2 separate regions of the Homo sapiens genome follow, and region 1 is linked to region 2. Evidence: promoter capture Hi-C in human tissues and cell types (Jung and others, 2019). All regions are on one chromosome and are shown on one strand. Each heading gives the region's core, a stretch centred on a gene start or on the middle of the fragment in contact. The rest is flanking DNA. Distances are from core to core; before and after follow the strand shown.

Region 1 (5,006 bases), core at 262-2,761, 33 kb after region 2:
TTCAACATGAATTGTCTACCTCTTACACTGGACTAATCTAGTGATGGTAGAATTGACCTGTATCTAGTTTCCCTCAATGGTCAAGGATCAAGGGCTCACAGTGGATCACAGACTGAAATGAATCCATAATGAAATTAATTCTTGAGACAAGAAAGTAAAAATACGAAAGGGAGAGAGCCCCCAAGACCTTTTTCTAAGCTCTATTGCTAAGGCCCCTTTTAGTAAGGAGCTGATATAAAATAAAACCTATCTCTGAGGCAAAATTTGGAGGGAAGTGGAGACAATGAAAGTAATGCATGTAATACCACTTGCCTGCCTAAAGAACAGATATTTACATGGATCCCCTCAATGACTTTCAAAAAACATCTTGCATAAGTGGATGGGTAGTGCAGCAAATTAGGGTAGGGTGATGCTAAGATCACAGGGAAGAGGGACATGGAAGGATAAAGACAGAAACTAAAACCTCTCAATACAAAAGGAGCTTACGCTGCAGGTGAAAGGGAGTTAGATTAGACCTAAATACTGGGTTGAATGATTTACAGAGAGTTTGCTTCCCTGAACCTCTCTTAAAAGTAAATACACATAAGGAATGGGCTAGGGAGAGAGACAGGGCATTTACTTTTAATCAGTTGCTCCATGTGATTCACCCACCCTCCTATTCCTATCACCTTTGACCAGGCCTCAGAACTTCACCTCAACAAAGTGATGGAAGTGATTGGACCATTAAACAAATGAAGTCATCTAGCTCAAATGTAAACTAAACCAGCCCTCGGTTGTGGCAGGAAATGGTGTTCTGTTCACCTAACCTGCCTCCTGAAGGGCTGGGGTCTCCAGCGGCCGCTAATCCTTAACCAAGACCCGAAAACCCACCTTCCGAGTCTCTCTCGAAGCCCATGAGCTGGTCACTGTTGCCGTCGCCTTCCTCCTCTTCCTCTTCCTCCTCAAACTCCAGATCCTGGCCTAGTAGCAAATCACTCTCCAATACCAGGGCCCCGGGTCCTTCGTCGAGGGAGTCTTCAGTATCCACTGAAGAGGGGAGGGGGCTTGTGGATTCTCCCTCAGGAACCAGCCCTCGTGGACCACACTTCCCGTACTCGCTGACCCACTCTGATTCCCTTAGTGCCTCGGTGGGAAGCTAGGAGTCTGGATCGCCCACTTCATCCCTCAGGAGTCCCCCTCCACCCTGACCTGAGCCCACTCCACTGACCCCACCCCCGCTCCTCTCCCCTCAAGGCCCCTGACCCCTGACCTTTGACCCCCTCGCATTTCACGGGCTGCGGGTGGCTTTGCTTCCTTCGGGGCATCGTGACCGGCTCCAGCCCGACGCGCCTCCGGCCTGCGGCCGCCCGACCCCGCCCCTCCTATCTCGGCCCGCCTGTCTGCCCTTCCTCTCAGGGCCCGCGGGCCGCCCCCATGCAGCGGCGCGGGCCCTGGGCAGCCCCCGGCCCTGGCCCCGGCGCCCAGCTCAGGCCGCTCCCGCCGCCGCCGCCGCTTCCATTCATGGAGCCCCCTACCCCCCTACGGAGACCAGCTGGTACCTCCGTACTCGCTTCCGCTTCCGCCGCCGCAGAGACGCACGGGACGCGTAGTCCGTGGGAAGCGGCCGCGGCGGGAGCCTCAATGGCGTGACCGGGAAGTGATTGTGACGAGGCGGGGAGCAAGCCAATCAGCGGCAGCGGGGAGCCGGCCAGGGAGCAGCGCAGGAGGCGTCCTGCCCGACTCCAGGCTTCAGGCCAGCCAGACCGGTCCCAACCTGTCCCTGGGGGAACTAGATCATTTCTGGCTGCAGGAGGGGGCGAGGGGCAGCCGCGACGCCCGCCAGGCCGGCCTACCAGCAGCTCGCTCTGGGCTCTCCTATACACGCGCAGGACACACACGAGCACACGCACACACTCACATGGGGGCTCGCCACATGCTACAGATGGGACCAAGTCGGGGGCCACGGCAGCAGAAAAAAAAGGACACGATGCGTACGATTAGGTTTTGGCCTTTAGTCTGAAAAAGTGTTGATTGAAAGTGTACAACAGAGAGCGGGTGCAAGCGGCCGAGGGCCATGGAGCCGCCAATAAAAAAGAATGTCCTTAAATAAAGTTCACAGAGTAAAAACCAGAACCGCCAGTCCTTCCCTCCAACACAACAGAGCACAGGCACAGAACCGGTGATGAGCCCGAGGAGCAGAGGCGGCTGGGAAGGACAGCAGAGGCTCCCGGCTGCAGTGTGGAGGGAGAGCCCTCTTTGGAATGGGCGGAGTGAAGCCACCCAGCTCCCCCTGCACACCTCATACCCACTGCTAAGGCTAAAGGAAAAAGACAAAACTCAGTCTCAGGTCCGGAGGGCTCAGAAAACAGTCTAGGTGGGCAGGGGTCTGGATGACTGCTAGTCTCGCTTGGCCTTCTTCTTCTTGTCGCTGTTGCCATTTTCTTCAGCCCCCTCAGTAGAGAGCACCTCCTCTAGTTTTCGCTTGCCACTCTCTGGCTGGAGCTCTGCTGTGTTTCGGGGCTTGAAGCAAATGATGATGCAGGTCATGTTGTCACACCCTGTACCATCCCCAGAAGTGTCTGGTGCCAGGCACTGATCCAGCAGCTAAGAAAGGGATGGGGGTAGCTCAGCCACAGGGTTTGAACACCTTGCCAGGAATCTACAGTCCCACAAGAGGGCTGGCTTGCTGAGTCAGGGTGGTAGGAGAGGAATGGGCAAGAGGTATCACACAACGGCCCACCTGCTAGTCCATAAGGCATAAGGCTAAGTCAGGGAAATGACAGAAGGTGGAACTTTGGAGTCGGGGTTTAGCGTCTGTCAGCAATTACTGATAATGCTCCCAGATTGCCGACTTAGCTCAGATTAAAAGAGTGAACCCTGGCTGTGCAGACCAGACACCCTCTCTTCTCCACCCTGGTACTCACCTCTTCCACAATGGATGACAATAACCGAAGCTCCCCATTTTCATCACGCTGGCTGATCTTTGATTGAATGAAATCTACAACTTCCTGGCTGCTCATCACATTCCTGGGGTCAAGAACAACAGTCAGAATCTTCCAGTCTCACTAAGGCAGCGTAGAGGAGTATGGACAGAGGTGGTGGCCCAGGCCAGTGTAAATAACTACAGAAATTCTCAGCTCTGCCTTAGTCTGGGTGCTCTTCACCCACCAAGAGGCCTAGGTCTGCCTAGGCTCTAATCCTAGAGGTGCCCTGAGTCCTATAAGAGAAGACATGCTGCAGAAAGGGGAATTTAGGGCATTCTGCCAGTGCTCACCAGATGCCATCACAGGCAATGACCATGAATTCATGGTCGTCAGTGAGAGTCAGCACCTTGATGTCAGGAAGGGCTGAAATCATCTGTTCCTCAGGTGGCAGGTTCTTGTTTCTCTTATAGAAGTGGTCCCCTGGAGTAAAGGAATGGTTGATGAGCAGTTTGGATACTTCCCACAGACTTGTGTTTGTGGCAGGTCAAACCTTGCCATTCATTTCCCTTCTTTACAAAGTTCCATAATCTAGTGGAATGGGGAACTGAGTCCTAAGTCCTAGTTTTTCTAGTTTCAACCCTGCCACCAGACTGCTGAACCTTAAGAAAGTCACTCACTGGTCTTTTTATTTTAAGTCTTTTTTGTTTTTTTTTTTTTGAGACGGAGTTTCACTCTTGTAGCCCAGGCTGGAGTGTAATGGCACGATCTCGGCTCACTACAACCTCCGCCTCCCGGATTCAAGCGGTTCTCCTGCCTCAGCCTCCTGAGTAGCTGGGATTACAGGCTTGCACTACCATGCCCAGCTAATTTTTGTATTTTTTTTTTTTTTTAGTAGAGATGGGGTTTCACCATGTTGGCCAGGCTGGCCTCGAACTCCTGACCTCAGGCGATCCACCAGCCTCAGCCTCCCAAAGTGCTGGGATTACAGGCGTGAGCCACCACGCCCGGCACTCACAGGTCTTTTTCATCATTCAAATGTTACATAAGATGGGTATAATGATACCTATGTATAATGATACCTCTACCCATCTTAGTTATTTCACAGAAATATAAGAACAGAGGTAGTAGATATTAAAGTGCTTTGAAAGGCACAAGCACTAGGAAGATTAAAGTTTGCTACTAGGTAGTCTGGGACAGAGAGAAAGACCCTAGAAGTCTTTCCCAGTTTCTTGGCCCTTACCAATGGCTCTGGAGAGGTTGAGGCCCCCGTTGACTCGCCCATCCATGGTGACCTTGCCACCAGCATTCTTGATGCGTGCTAGTTCTACTTCATCCTCTGGTTTGTGATCATAGGACATGTCTAAAGCTTTGCCAGCCTCAGATACCACACAGCGAGAGTCTCCTGCGTTGGCTACAATCAACTGCTTCCCTCGTATCAGGGCCACCACCGCTGTTGTACCACTGTCAGAGCCAGGCTTAAGAGGAAGAAAAGGAGCATCATGGGGGCTTCTGAACATGCGTTCCTCACTGATGTGCTCCTGATCGTTCACCTATGCTTGCTTTCACTGGGACCCCCAAAAGAGCTTTAACAAACAGGAGAAGCACACATTTCATCTTTCTAGAGACAGCAGCACACTCCCTCTCCCTTGTTTTTAGATAATTCAACCCCAAAGGCTTACCATCTCATTCCCCTTGCAGAATAAATCCCCATGACTATTACTTCCATCCTAAAGTATCAGGGGGATCCCCTGTCTCAAAATCAAAATTAGGGGATTCACACCTGCCTTGTGGCTTTTCAAGACTCATTGCTCCCCTTCCCCACACACCTCCTCTTTGCCTTCCATCCCTGGCACCATCATCTCTTCTTCTTCTTCTTCATCGTCCTCTTCAGCCTCCTCGGTGTCATCCTCATCTTCCTCATTCTCTGCCTCCTCACTGCTGTAGCCATCCTCTTCCTCGCTGCATTCCTGCCAGGGGGAGGATCCCAGACTGCTGAGACTGGGATGATCCCCTCCCTCCCCACAGCTCATACTCAGAATCAAGAGGTCCTGACTGAACACAGGTCCTCAAAACACTGAAAGATACAAGTATATGGTCATGAAA
Region 2 (5,100 bases), core at 241-2,740:
GGCTGGAGTGCAGTGGCGTGATGTCGGCTCACTGCAACCTCTGCCTCCCAGGTTCAAGCAATTCTCCTGCCTCGGCCTTCCGAGTAGCTGGGACAACAGGTGCCCGCCACCACACCCAGCTAAATTTTTGTATTTTTAGTAGAGATGGGGTTTCACCATGTTGACCAGGCTGGTCTTGGACTCCTGACCTCAGGTGATCTGCCCACCTTGGCCCCGCAAAGTGCTAGGATTACAGACTTGAGCCACTGTGCCCCGCCACTTTTTTTTTTTTTTTTTTTTTTGAGACACGCTCTTGTTCTATCACCCAGACTGGAGTGGTGCAGTGGTGTGATCACAGCTCACTGCAGCCTTGTCCTCCAGAGCTCAAGCAATCCTCCTGCCTCAGCCTCCCAAGTAGCTAGGACTATAGGCATGTATCACCATGCCTGGCTAATTTTTAAATTTTTTGTAGAGATGAGGTCTCACTACGTTGCCCAGGATGGTCTTGAATTCCTGGGCTCAAGCAATCTTTCCACCTCGGTCTCCCAAAATGTTGGGATTATAGGTGTTAGCCACCGTGCCCATTCTGATACCTTTTTTTTTTTTTTTTTTTTTTTTTTTTTTTTTTTTTTTGAGACAGAGTCTCATTCTGTAACCCAGGCTGGAGTGCAATGGTGCAATCACAGCTCACTGCAGCCTGGACCTCCCAGGCTCAAGTGATCCTCCCACCTCAGCCGCCTGAGTAGTTGGGACTACAGGCATGCACCACCATGCCTGACTAATTTTTGTATTTTTTGTAGAGACTAAGTTTCACCATGTTGCCCAGGCTGGAGTGCAGTGGCGTGATTACATACTCAAACTCCTGGACTCAAGCAATTCTCTCAACTTCGTCTCCCAAAATGCTGGGATTACAGGCATAAACCACTATGCCTTGCCTTTTTTAATTTTTAAAAATTAAAAAAAATTTTTTTTTTCTGAGTCAGGATCTCGCTCTGTCACCCAGACTAGAATGTGGTGGTGTGATCACAGCTCACTGCAGCCACTAACTCCTGGGTTCAAACAGTCCTCCCTCCCCAGCTTCCCAAATAGCCAAGACTTCAAATGTGCACCAATACGCCCAGATACGTTTTTAATTTTTTTGTGCAGATTGGGTCTTGCTATTTTGCCCAGGCTTGTCTTGAATTCCTAACCTCAAGAGATCCTCCCACCTTGGCCTCCCAAAGTGCTGGGATTACAGGTGTAAGCCACCATGTCTGGCCAAGAAACCTTTCCACATTGAAGAATTGACTAAATTGTCATGAGTCTTCATTTTCTTCAAACCCCAAAAAATTAGTTGTATAACCATGGGCCAAAGTAAACTAAGATAAATCACTGACCACCAAACCCGAAACCTAAGCAACACAGAACTCTCCAAGGGTCCAGTTTTTGGCCAGAATAACCTGCCTGTCTGTGACAAAGGGGCAGACATAGTTCAAATCCCAGGATGGGACCCCGCCCCCCACAGATCTATATATACGCCTTAAGAATAAACAATTCATCAGTCTCAGTGGAAAAGTGTGCTTATACAAATCCCATAAGAAATATAAAATAAAAGCTTCCAACTGTCTCACTTGAAGAAGCTACAGTCTAACCAGATTATAAACTATAGCAATGGCCAACCCTCTGAGGCAGGTGCTGAGGATACAAGAAAACACATGTGCTAAAGATACATTATAACACTGCCAAGGTAAATAAAGGTCAGTGAAAATCCATCTATATTATTCCTGTGATAAATAAGAAGCCCTGACAGAACTACCCCATTCAAAATTAGTCACAAGCCAAAAGGACCTATGCATATACCGAAAGAAAAGGATAGAAAGATGAAGAGTACCCTTTTGAAGAAGTGATTCAGAAAACAGAAGGAAATTTCCAACAAAAAATTCCTGCACTTTCAAAAACATCAAATGGATTGTGAAATCCAAGAGCTAGGGTTTGAACATCCCCTCCAAAACTCATGTTGAAATTTAATTCCCATTTGTAACAGTATTAAGAGGTGGGATCTTTAAGAGATGATTAGGCCACAAGGGCTCCACCCTGACCAGTCAGATCAGTGTCATTATAAAAGGGTGAGTTTAGGGCAGGACCCAGTGGCTCATGCCTGTAATCCCTGCACTTAGGGAGGCAGAGGTGGGAGGATCCCTTGAGCCCAGGAGTTTGAGACCAGCCTGGGCAACATGGCAAAACCCTGTCTCTACAGAAAAATACCAAAACAGGGCCAGGTGCAGTGGCTCACGCCTGTAATCCCAGCACTTTAGGAGGCCCGGACGGGCCAATCACGAGGTCAAGAGTTTGAGACCACCTGGCCAACATGGTGAAACCCTGTCTCTACTAAGAATACAAACATTAGCTGGGTGTGGTGCCGCGTGCCTTAATCCCAGCTACTTGGGAGGCTGACGCAGGAGAACTGCTTGAACCCGGGAGGCAGAGGTTGCAGTGAGCCAAGATAGTGCCATTGCACTCCAGCCTGGGCGACAGAGCAGGACTCCGTCTGAGGGAAAAAAAAAAAAAAAACTAGCTGGGCATGGTGGGCAGCAGGGACCTGTAGTCCCAGCCACTCAGGAATTGGAAGTGAGAAGATCACTTGAGCCTGGGAGGTGGAGGCTGCAGTGAGCAGAGATCGCGTTCCTGCACTCCAGCCTGGAGTTGAGACTCTGTCTCAAAAAACAAAAAACAAACAAAAAAACCGAAAACATGTATCATAACAATAAACACATATCATTTAAACTCATCCATTAAAAGAAAGAATAGGACCAGGTACAGGCTCATGCCTGTATTCCCAGTATGTTGGGAGGCCGAAGCAAGCAGATTGCTTGAGGCCAGGAATTTGAGACCAGCCTGGCCAACATAGCGAAACCCCATCTCTAGTAAAAATACAAAAATTAGCTGGGCATGGTGGCACAAGCCTGTGATCCCAGCTACTCAGGAGACTGAGGCACGAGAATCACTTGAGCCTGGGAGGTGAAGCCAAGATCACACCACTGCATCCCAGCCTGGGCAGACAGAGCAAGATGCTATCTCAAAAGAAAAAATAATAAAGATTTGGTTTGATTTTAATTTTGTATTTATTTATTTATTTTTGAAATGGAGTCTTGCTCTTGTCACCCAGGCTGGAGTGCAGTGGCCTGATCTCAGCTCACTGCAACCTCTGCCTCCCAGGTTCAAGTGATTCTCCTGCCTTAGCCTCCCCAGTAGCTAGGATTACAGGCGGCCGCCACCACACCCAGCTAATTTTTGTATTTTTAGTAGAGATGGGGTTTCACCATGTTGGCCAGGCTGGTCTCAAACTCCTGACCTCAAGTGATCTGCCTGCCTTGGCCTCCCAAAGTGCTGGGATTACAGGTGTGAGCCACTGTGCCCAGCCTGATTTGATTTTTTTTTTTTTTTTTTTTTGAGACAGAGTCTTGCTCTGTTGCCCAGGCTGCAGTGCAGTGGCGCGATTTCGGCTCACTGCAAGCTCCGCCTCCCGGGTTCACGCCATTCTCCTGCCTCAGCCTCCCGAGTAGCTGGGACTACAGGCGCCCGCCATCATGCCCGGCTAATTTTTTTTATTTTTAGTAGAGACGGGGTTTCACCGTGTTAGCCAGGATGGTCTCGATCTCCTGACCTCGTGATCCGCCCGCCGCGGCCTCCCAAAGTGCTGGGATTACAGGCGTGAGCCACTGCGCCCAGCCCTGATTTGATTTTAAAAGACAAATAACTATATGCTTTTCAAGAGATGCCTAAAACAAAATAACTCAAAAAGCTGAAAATACAAAGATCAACTAAAATGTACAGGGCAAAATCTAAGCAAAAACAAAGGAGGAGTTTTGATGACAATAGTAAAGTCGAATTTAGGGGGAAAACATTAAATAGGAATAAAGGGAGTACTATTTTTTTTTTTTGAGACGGAGCCTCTCTCTGTTGCCCAGGCTGGAATGCAGTGGCGTGATCTCGGCTCACTGCAACCTCTGCCTCCTGGGTTCAAGCAACTCTCCTGCCTCAGCCTCCCGAGTAGCTGGGATTACAGGCATGTGCCACCATGCCTGGCTAACTTTTGTATTTTTTAGTAGAGACGGGGTCTGGCTGTGTTGGCCAGGCTGGCCTTGAACTCCTGACCTCAAATGATCCCCCTGCCTCAGTTTCCCAAAGTGCTGGGATTACAAGCATGAGCCACTGTGCCCAGCCCAAAAGGGAGTAGTTTATAATGAATAAAACTTCAAATCATATAAAAGATATAAATGTCAGGAACATTTAAACATCAAATAACAGCATCAAAAGATACAAAGCAAAATGTTCATGACACAGAACAATAACTTCTTTTAATCAATGACAAAGTAGATAAGAACAATGAAGATATAAATAAAATAAATATTCCCCCCATATTGGCTCAGTTGCATAGAACAGAATCCTCTCCAATCAGTTCAAGCAGAAAGGAATTCACTACACGGTATTAAACAGTTCATATCAGAGGTTCACAAAGTGTGGCCCCAGAAACTGCAGCATCAGTATCACCTGCAAATTTGTTAAAATGCAAATTCCTAGTTCTACCCCAGACCTACCGAATCAGCAATTCTGGATGGGGCCAGCACCTTGTGTTTTAACAAGCTCTTCAGGGGATTCTGACGCACACTCAAGCTGAAAAACACTTGCATAAATAAATGATCACGATGAGGGTTGAGGGAAAAACAGTTGGTAGGAACAAGTGCTTATCAAACTGGGAAGGTGCTCTTATTTACAGCTGCTGGCTCAAGAATCATGTGCTGGGCTGGGCGCAGTGGCTCATGCCTGTAATCTCAACACTTTGGGAGGCCAAGGTGGGAGGATCGCTTGAGGCCAGGAGTTCAAGATCAGCCTGGGCAACACAGCAAGACTTTGTCTCTGCAAAAAAATTTTTTTTGAAAATTAGCTGAGGCTGGGTGCGGTGGCTCATGCCTGTAATCCCAGCACTCTGGGAGGCTGAGGCAGGTGGATCACCTAAGGTCAGGAGTTCCCGACCAGCCTGGCCAAAAGCGATGAAACCCCGTCTCTACTAAAAAATACAAAAATTAGCCAGGCGTGGTGGAATATGCCTGTAATCCCAGCTACTCGGGAGGCTGAGGCAGG

The links. The method cuts DNA at HindIII sites, captures the fragments that hold promoters and counts their contacts. A contact is called where the count stands out against the background at its distance.
Region 1: the fragment with the promoter of ZNF513 here is called in contact with a fragment that was not itself captured in region 2 in 12 of the 25 tissues and cell types used here (H1 embryonic stem cells, IMR-90 fibroblasts, bladder and 9 more).

The regions. Positions count from the first base shown.
Region 1 is chr2:27,379,223-27,384,228 of GRCh38, forward strand. It overlaps ZNF513 (zinc finger protein 513), which reads right to left and starts at 1,512. Exons shown (of 4, transcript NM_144631.6): 1 at 1,250-1,512; 2 at 871-1,026. The coding sequence starts at 1,304. It overlaps PPM1G (protein phosphatase, Mg2+/Mn2+ dependent 1G), which reads right to left. Exons shown (of 10, transcript NM_177983.3): 6 at 4,730-4,870; 7 at 4,144-4,378; 8 at 3,254-3,383; 9 at 2,904-3,006; 10 at 1,977-2,583. The coding sequence ends at 2,377. RefSeq lists an enhancer at 1-124 and a silencer at 1,265-1,484. The HindIII fragment of the contact is 10,400 bases long and covers 1-4,795 here.
Region 2 is chr2:27,345,758-27,350,857 of GRCh38, forward strand. All of the region lies in intron 1 of GTF3C2 (general transcription factor IIIC subunit 2), which reads right to left. Among named protein-coding and RNA genes, the nearest start is that of GTF3C2, 8.5 kb to the right of the region's middle. The HindIII fragment of the contact is 7,211 bases long and covers 1-5,096 here.